3 separate regions of the Homo sapiens genome follow, and regions 2 and 3 are each linked to region 1. Evidence: promoter capture Hi-C in 16 types of primary human blood cells and fetal thymus (Javierre and others, 2016). All regions are on one chromosome and are shown on one strand. The core of a region is centred on a gene start or on the middle of the fragment in contact, and the rest is flanking DNA. Distances in the headings are between cores, read along the strand shown. Region 1 holds the start of CYBC1 (cytochrome b-245 chaperone 1). Region 2 overlaps ALYREF (Aly/REF export factor). Region 3 overlaps SIRT7 (sirtuin 7).

What was found. Contacts are between HindIII fragments. The CHiCAGO score rates a contact against its expected background, and 5 or more counts as called.
Region 2: a contact is called between a fragment that was not itself captured here and the fragment with the promoter of CYBC1 in region 1, in 1 of 17 cell types (non-activated CD4 T cells). The highest score is 5.1, in non-activated CD4 T cells.
Region 3: a fragment that was not itself captured here is called in contact with the fragment with the promoter of CYBC1 in region 1 in 3 of 17 cell types (naive CD4 T cells, activated CD4 T cells and non-activated CD4 T cells); the score reaches 5.4 in naive CD4 T cells.

What each region holds. Positions count from the first base shown.
Region 1 is chr17:82,449,277-82,452,146 of GRCh38, reverse strand. CYBC1 (cytochrome b-245 chaperone 1) reads left to right here and starts at 1,395. Exons shown (of 7, transcript NM_001033046.4): 1 at 1,395-1,447; 2 at 2,855-2,870. RefSeq lists a silencer at 1,335-1,694 and an enhancer at 2,325-2,584. The HindIII fragment of the contact is 1,869 bases long and covers 646-2,514 here.
Region 2 is chr17:81,886,786-81,889,655 of GRCh38, reverse strand. It overlaps ALYREF (Aly/REF export factor), which reads left to right. Exons shown (of 6, transcript NM_005782.4): 3 at 327-474; 4 at 1,073-1,136; 5 at 1,238-1,415; 6 at 1,511-1,821. The coding sequence ends at 1,525. Among named protein-coding and RNA genes, the nearest start is that of ALYREF, 3.4 kb to the left of the region's middle. RefSeq lists a silencer at 84-248 and an enhancer at 52-1,251. The HindIII fragment of the contact is 3,701 bases long and covers 1-2,870 here.
Region 3 is chr17:81,912,299-81,915,168 of GRCh38, reverse strand. SIRT7 (sirtuin 7) reads left to right here. Exons shown (of 10, transcript NM_016538.3): 6 at 467-565; 7 at 639-875; 8 at 1,002-1,082; 9 at 1,289-1,395; 10 at 2,555-2,870. The coding sequence ends at 2,753. Among named protein-coding and RNA genes, the nearest start is that of PCYT2, 2.3 kb to the right of the region's middle. The HindIII fragment of the contact is 715 bases long and covers 1,064-1,778 here.

The sequences.
Region 1 (2,870 bases), core at 146-2,645:
TGTCATGTAGTCCTATACCAGAGTCAGGCTGGAATTTGGCGTCATTGCTACAGAGTCTACTTTGTCAACTTCAAGATCTGTTTTTGTTTTGTTTTGTTATTTTTTATTGAGATGGAGTCTCACTCTGTTGCCCAGGCTGGAGAGCAGTGGCACGATCTCGGCTCACTGCAAGCTCTGCCTCCCGGGTTCACGCCATTCTCCTGCCTCAGCCTCCCGAGTAGCTGGGACTATGAGCACCCGCCACCACGCCCAGCTAATTTTTTTGTGTTTTTAGTAGAGATGAGGTTTCACTGTGTTAGCCAGGATGGTCTCAATCTCCTGACCTCGTGATCTGCCCACCTTGGCCTCCCAAAGTGCTGGGATTACAGGCGTGAGCCACCGCACCTGGCCACCTCAAGATCTGTTTTAATGTGAATGCTGGTCAGCTGTGTGCCTGAATTCCAAAAGGGAGGAGGGAGTGAGGTATGTCTGTCTCCCCCTTCCCATCACTGCCTGAGCTAGTTTTTCAGGATAACTTGGGAATGCTCTTGGCCAAGCGGAAGGGTCCATTCAGATGGTTGAGGTTTCGAATTGCTGACTGTATCCTTGTAGAATCCTTTAGTACAGTCTTGTCTTCCACATTTCCAGTAATTCACTCTAGAAGCTTGTTCACATTCAGGTTAAATTTTTTCTGGCAAGACTACTTCATAGTGTTGTGTACTTCTGATATCTAACTGACCTTTTTGCGATGTTAATTAGCAGTCATTGATGACATTGCCTAGGTCCGTTAATTCATAGGGTGATGTTTTAATCCTACTGTTTCTTCTTCATTTATTAGCGGGAAAACTTCTATAATGAGAAATTCTTCTCATGCAGTATTTGGTTACTCTGCTGTAAATTTCATAAAGGCAGGACAAATGCTTGATGCTTTCCTTTTATTAACCAGGCCACAAACTGGGGTGAGCTTACCAGCATCCTCCAAAGGTGAACAGAGTTAAAAAATACATTATTATGAATTACAGACTGGAGCATCTGAGGATTTTAAATTCACTCGAATTCCTGTTCTTATTCATGCTCAAATCTTCTTTTTTGGCAATGAGAACCGCTTCAGTTTCGCTTCTATGTTAGCAAGACGTTCATAGTCCTTGGTAAGTTCTTTGCTGTCGGATACGTTTCCCCGCACGTTTCTTTTTTTCAAGAAAACTGGCTTCTTTAGCAGGAACCACCCGCCTCCTCCTGCGGCTCCGCCCGGATCCCGGAAATCCGCTCGGCTCCGCCCCATCCAGGAAATGCTTGCGGCCCCGCCCCAATCCCGTAAGCGCGCGCGGCCCCGCCCCCAATCCCGGAAGCGCGCGCGGCCCCGCCCCCGAAAGTCGGCTCGGCTCCGCTCCAATCCCGGAAGTGCGCGCGGCCCCGCCCCCGCCGGTTCGCGTCTCTCTGCTGCGGCGCGGGGACCGCTGTGCTCTCGGTAGGCGGCTGGGCTGGGTGGGCTCCGCACTTCCTTCCCGCTCCGTGCCGCGCGTCCCGGCACCCTTAGGCCCACTCCGGGAGGGGTCTGCGTCCTGGGCCCGCCTGCCGGCTGTTCCGTGTCCCGCCGTGCCCGTCGCGGGCGGCCTCGCGCCTGTTCCGCTGCAGGTTGGCCCCGGCGGCGGGAGCGCCCCCGATCCGGACAAAGAAACGAGCGCTCGGTGCGACTAGCGGCGCGGGCGGCTTTGCCAGCGCGCGTGTGCTTGTGTCCGCGAGTGTGCGTGTGTGTGTGCATTTGGATGTGGAATGCCGGGTGTTTCGGGAGCAATGAGGCAACTGAGGCCCGGGAGGGAGCCCAGTCATATACCAGCATCTAGGATTGGTTTGTGTGATTTGAACCCACTATTTTTTATTTTTTTGAGACACGGTCTCACTCTGTCACCCAGGCTGGAGTCCAGTGGCACGATTTCTGCTCACTGCAGCCTCCACCTCCCGGCCTCAGGTGATCCTCCCAGCTCAGCCTCCTGAATAACTAGGACCACAGGCGTACACCACCACACCGGGCTGTTTTATGTATTTTCTGTGGAGACGGGGTTTCGCCACGTTGCCCTGGCTGGTCTTGAACTCCGTGACTCAAACAATCCGCACGCCTCGTCCTCCCAAAGTGCTGAGATTACAGGCCTGAGCCACCGCGCCCAGCCTGAACCCCCTACTTAATGTCAGAAATTTGATTTGACTTCACAGGGAAAGCCCTGAGAAACTACCAGAACGGGGTCCCTGGGGCCAGTGTTGGGAGCGTACGGTGAAGTGGCAGGGCTGCTGCGCCCGTGCGGAACTCCGCTGTGGAAGATTAGCCCCTTTGGTGACTCGTCGGTTCTGGCCGCTTTGGGACCCTCTACTGTGCAGTCTGAACTTTCAGCAGGTGGAGGAGGGCAGAGAGAGAGCTGAGATCGTTGGTCCATGCCAGTGCGAGAGCCAGTACGGCCGGAAGCCATGATGGGACTTTCAGTTCCTTTCTTGGTGGAGGCCAGCACAGGGGAGAGGGGGTGCCCACAGATGCTAGAAGCTTAAAGGCTGCTGGGGGCTAGCGGCCTCAGGACATAAGGTTTCCAGACAGGACGGGGCAGGTGGTGATGCAGCTGTAGCTCGTGAGTCTGAGCGGGAAACAGCCCCCGCGCAGTCGGTGTCGCTGTGAACGGAAAAGGGCCTTCCTTACACAGGAAACGGGGTCTCTGGGGGATCCAGTGACGTGCCCAACCACAGAGACCAGGTGAGACTGGCTGATGGTGTCTGGGGCTGCAGGTGACTTAGTTGGGGGACCTGCTCTTGGCCTCCAGACTGGGCCTGATGGCGTGGGCGCCTGCCTGTGTGCAGGCCCAAGGGCTCAGCTGCCTCTGTCTGTTCCCAGACCCCTCCTCCTGTAG
Region 2 (2,870 bases), core at 97-2,596, 560 kb after region 1:
CAGCCCTTGGGTGTGTTGTACATTTTCCTTTGTTGAAGAGGATAGTGGCTTAATTTTGTGCCCGTTGCTAGTGGGCTTTGCAGCTTCCTCTACCTGCATCGTGGTACACGTGTCAGGTCCCCACAATGGCAGGAGCCCTCAGACCCAGGTGCTCTTGGAAGTTGCTGTCCCTCCTGCCCCGCCCTTCCCTCATTTCCCGTTAACCACTGTCCTGCCTCCCAGAGAACCACCCCCAAAGCAACTCACGCTTCCAGGGCCTGTCCCTGGGCCACCAGAAGGAACGCAGTTTTGTTGCTTTTCTGACAACTGCTCTCTGCAACTCCCAGGAACTCTTTGCTGAATTTGGAACGCTGAAGAAGGCGGCTGTGCACTATGATCGCTCTGGTCGCAGCTTAGGAACAGCAGACGTGCACTTTGAGCGGAAGGCAGATGCCCTGAAGGCCATGAAGCAGTACAACGGCGTCCCTCTGGATGGTGAGTCTGGGGGTGGACCCACGCTGACTGTGGGGCTTGTGGAGTTTGGGGCTGGCACCTGTCCAGGTAGGAATATGGGGTACCCCTGTGGCTGAGGACACTTTGCATTTGCCCCTTTGTCTCTCTCTTCCATCTGCCACCTCTCATGCTGCCCCACACATCTGGACCAACCTCTTGTGAACCCCCATCCAGCAAGCTACATCCCTCCCCTCCTTCAGCTCCTTCCGGAAGATTCACTTCTGTGAAGCCTTCTCAGAACCGCCATAGTACACCTCTGAGTGCGGGGCTGTAGTCGTAAAGACAAAGGTACCGGTTCTTCTTCGTCAGGTCACCCACACCTCTCCACCCACGAGCACCCCGATACCTCAGCGAGCAGCCCACCTAGTCTGGACTGAGAAGGAGTGAGGAGGTGTTGGTGGGGTTGCTTCCTTGCCATTTTGTTCTCCCACCAGTATCTCCAGGCCATTTCCCTTGTCGGGGGCATTTGAGACGCACAGAGGCCCTTTCCAGTGTTTGCATGGAGACCAGGGTGTGGCGCCAGCTGGGTGGGTTTCAGAGCCTCTCAATAGAACGTGCCTTCTCGTATTCTTTGCCGCAGGCCGCCCCATGAACATTCAGCTTGTCACGTCACAGATTGACGCACAGCGGAGGCCTGCACAGAGGTGACTTCCGGGGCCTCTGGGGAAGGGGATTGGCCGAGGGTGAGGCTGCGTCGCTCTTAGGGTCCTTCCGGGTGTGTGAACGGTTTCGTCTTCCTTGCTAGCGTAAACAGAGGTGGCATGACTAGAAACCGTGGCGCTGGAGGTTTTGGTGGTGGTGGAGGCACCCGGAGAGGCACCCGCGGAGGCGCCCGTGGAAGAGGCAGAGGTGCCGGCAGGAATTCAAAGCAGCAGCTTTCGGCAGAGGAGCTGGATGCCCAGCTGGACGCCTATAATGCGAGAGTGAGTCCCGGGGGAGCCAGCTGGGGGCCTGGTCAAAGCCGCAGTGGGGAGCAGGCCGCCTGTGAATGCAAGCCTCTTTCTCCTCTGTGTTTCAGATGGACACCAGTTAAACAGACCAGCAAATCCGCGTGCGGAACAGGACCCAGGCGTCTCCTCTTGCTCCCTGGTTGGGGGGCGGTGGCTGGGGCTGTGCGGCCAATGATGGATTTGTTTCTTTTATGTTTTAAAATAGGATTTAAAAACTCATGTAAAGGTTTTTTTTTTTTCTTTTTTTTTTTTTTTAATTCTGAAACAGACCTGTTTTGTACCGAGTTATTTTTGGGATAAATTTTACTGGTTGCTGTTGTGGAGAAGGTGGCGTTTCCACCTTTTCCATAATAAAATAGAAATGTGTGTAGAACTGGAACTGTTTGATTCGTCCCACTGTTGGAGTCCAGGCCTGGGCCAGGATTTTGGTGTCTGTCCAGCTGGGAGGGGGTGGGAGAACCTGAGTTGGGGATGGAGGGAGCAGCCCCATCTGGTGTTGGACACCTGAAGTTGGCATGGGTTGTGGGGGTGGCGGGGGGTCCCCGCTCCTGGAGGGCCGAAGCTGCCTGTCTTCTTTCTTATCTTCTTTCCTGCCTCACACCTAACACCTTCCTCTCTAACTCACCAGGTGGGAGGACACCTTTGCCCGGGAGCCACCTGTTGACCCTTGTGCCTGTGCCTCCAGGTGAGGGGAGGTTGGGGTGGGATGGCTGCCCTGTGTGCCGTCCACAGGCTTCCCACAGCCAGAACATCTCTGGGCTGTTCCTTTCCTTCTTGTACTCTGGTTTTCAGAGAAACGTGGATTCAGCAGTTTTGACTTTGTAGTGTAATTCCTTTTTCTGTTTGTTTTTTTGTTGTTGTTTTTAACCTTGCCACGGAGCAAGGCATGAGGATCCTCTCTTAGTTGTATATTTGATGAAGTGGCTGGTGGAAGCTGTGATAATCCGTCCATTTAAGAGTGGGGCGGCTGGGCGCGGTGGCTCACGCCTGTAATCCCAGCACTTTGGGAGGCTGGGGCAGGCAGATCACCTGAGGTCAGGAGTTCAAGACCAGCCTGGCCAACATGGCGAAACCCCGTCTCTACTAAAAATACAAAATTAGCTGGGTGTGGTGGTGCATGCCTGTAATCCCAGCTACTTGGGAGGCTGAGGCTGGAGAATCGCCTGAACCAGGGAGGTGGAGGTTGCAGTGAGCCGAGATTGTGCCATTGCACTCCAGTCTGGACAACAAGAGTGAACTCCGTCTCAAAAAGGAGTAGGGCAACGCCTGATACCTGTAATCCCAGCACTTTGGGAGGTCAGGGCAGAAGGATCTCTTGAGCCCAGAAGTTCGAGACCAGCCTAGGCAACATGGCAAAACCCTATCTCTACTAAAAATACAAAAGTTAGCTGAGTGTGGTGGCGTGCTCCTGTGGTCTCAGCTATTCTA
Region 3 (2,870 bases), core at 172-2,671, 540 kb after region 1:
TGGACCTCAGAAGCCATCCTAGTCACAGGGGAGGCTTATAGGACATCTCTGGGGACCTTCTGCTGAACACCCTCAACCAATGGGGTGTAGTGGTTGATCTGCCTAGGTCCCCAGGGACCTGAAATGTCATGACCCAAGAGAGCATGGATCTGGGGCAGAGTGGCCCTTGCCAAACCCCGAGCCACTTCCCAACCTTGCCGGGACGGTGCAACCTCTTGCCCTCCCAGCCACTCCAGGTGCATCAGGGCTGGAGGAAGGACAGCCCCTCCCCACCACAGGCCCTCTTGACTCCTGGTGGTTGGACCTGTTGTGTGTTTTACTTTCTAAGGCTCTCTGGGGGGACGGAGCTGCCCCTGGTTTTGGGAGCCATCGGCGGGGCTCAGAACAGCCTCGCTGTGGCCGGGTACTGACCTCCCCACCACCACTGGCAGCCATCCCTCCCCTTGCCACCCGTTCTGCCTTCCAGGTGCAGCATGTGGTGTCTCAGAACTGTGACGGGCTCCACCTGAGGAGTGGGCTGCCGCGCACGGCCATCTCCGAGCTCCACGGGAACATGTACATTGAAGTGAGCAGTCCTGCAGGGACCCAGGGTCTCCATGGGCAGGCGGGTCCCACTCACTGTGCCCTCTTGCCTCTAGGTCTGTACCTCCTGCGTTCCCAACAGGGAGTACGTGCGGGTGTTCGATGTGACGGAGCGCACTGCCCTCCACAGACACCAGACAGGCCGGACCTGCCACAAGTGTGGGACCCAGCTGCGGGACACCATTGTGCACTTTGGGGAGAGGGGGACGTTGGGGCAGCCTTTGAACTGGGAAGCGGCGACCGAGGCTGCCAGCAGAGCAGACACCATCCTGTGTCTAGGGTCCAGCCTGAAGGTACGTGCCGATGACACAATGAGTGAACCGAGCCCCTGCCCGCCCGAGGGTGTCCAGCTCTGCGGCCCAGCACTGTACAGACTTGTCCCTTGTGTGTGTGCGGTGTCTGTCTGTCTGCTTCCACAGGTTCTAAAGAAGTACCCACGCCTCTGGTGCATGACCAAGCCCCCTAGCCGGCGGCCGAAGCTTTACATCGTGAACCTGCAGGTAACTCGGGTGCTGAGAGCCACGTCCTTAGATCTGGGTCTTAGAACGCACAGCCAGAGACACCCCACACCCATGCACCAGGGCGGTCTGATAGGGCCCCCGTGGGTGCTCAGGGAGCACCGACTGAGCCCGTAGGGGCCAAGGCTGACAGGCCACCGGGAAGGGTTGGGCTGCTGTTACTCTCACTCGGCTTTCCCTGTCCTCAGTGGACCCCGAAGGATGACTGGGCTGCCCTGAAGCTACATGGGAAGTGTGATGACGTCATGCGGCTCCTCATGGCCGAGCTGGGCTTGGAGATCCCCGCCTATAGCAGGTGAGTGAGCCGCTGCAGCAGCCTGCTTCCCCGCACCTCTGTGTGCTGGGCCTTGTCTGTCTTCTCTCGTGAGCTGAGTGTGGAGGAAGCTCTGAGGTGTTTGCAGTGGTGCCTGAGGCATGACTGAAGCGTGGTGGTCTCCAGAGGGCCTGACCTCGGTGGTTGGCGGAGACCCTGCGTGTGCCACTCCTGCCCTGGCTGATGTGGCACACACAATCCCCGCGGGGAGAGGGATTCTGCCCGCGTGCTCCTGCTCCAGGCCTCCCCGTGGAGCTCTCCGAGATGCCTGGTGGGAAGCATCTGGAGGGGACGAGCACTCGGCAGCTCTGGTCAGACAGAATCTGTGTGCTTGGTTTTGGGAGTTGGCGTACTTTGGGAAAGCTTAAACAAACTGTGCCTTAATACAGAATTTGTGATAATTTAGACTTGGTGTATGTATTGAGTAAAAAGTTTACACTCTCTTTCTCTGTGAATTTTCAGGGTCTTATAGGGGAAATCAATAACTTCTTTTAATCAAAGGGTTCAAGAAATTAAGGATCCCTTCACCTTCTGGGCCTGGCACTTCTTGTATGTTATGTGTGTGGTGTTCTGTGATGTGGGCTATCGTGTACTGTATTTTTTTTTTACATTAACTTAGCTCATTTTCCTTATCAGTGCGTATCTGTATCTTAAGTTATGATCTGTGGTTCTGCATCTCCGTCAGACACATGCTTTCTTCACGGGGTCGTCTGTAGGCCACGCCTCCCTAGTCAGCTGGGAAGGGGGAGAGGGTCTGGTCCACCTGCCCCAGCGGTACAAGTGGAAGGTGGGGCCCAGAGTTGCTAGTGACTCATCCCTGGAGACGGAGGCAGCCCTGGGGCCACTGCTGCCCCACCCTGTGTGTGCACGCCGCTCAGTGGTGGACAAGGACACGGAGTTTTGAGGAGACCGAGCTAGTGTGGGTGCCGACCTTTGAGTCACCACCTAAGAGGTGACCTCTCCCACATCCGTTCTGCAGCTTGGTAACAATGAAGCTGCCGCCAACCAGAGCCCCGCCGCAGTTGACACGGGAGGGAAGGGGATGGGAAGGCAGGGACCGCAGACAGCTTTCCCGAGCTGGGGCAGGTGTGACTGCGAGAGGCTCCCAGGCCCGCCTGATGCCGCTTTCCCTTTTTGGCAGGTGGCAGGATCCCATTTTCTCACTGGCGACTCCCCTGCGTGCTGGTGAAGAAGGCAGCCACAGTCGGAAGTCGCTGTGCAGAAGCAGAGAGGAGGCCCCGCCTGGGGACCGGGGTGCACCGCTTAGCTCGGCCCCCATCCTAGGGGGCTGGTTTGGCAGGGGCTGCACAAAACGCACAAAAAGGAAGAAAGTGACGTAATCACGTGCTCGATGAAGAACAGTTGGCACTTTGCAGATGGCCAGTGTCACGGTGAAGGCTGGGTTGCCCCCACGGGTCTAGGGAGAACGAACTCTTTGGGGATGACATTTTCACCGT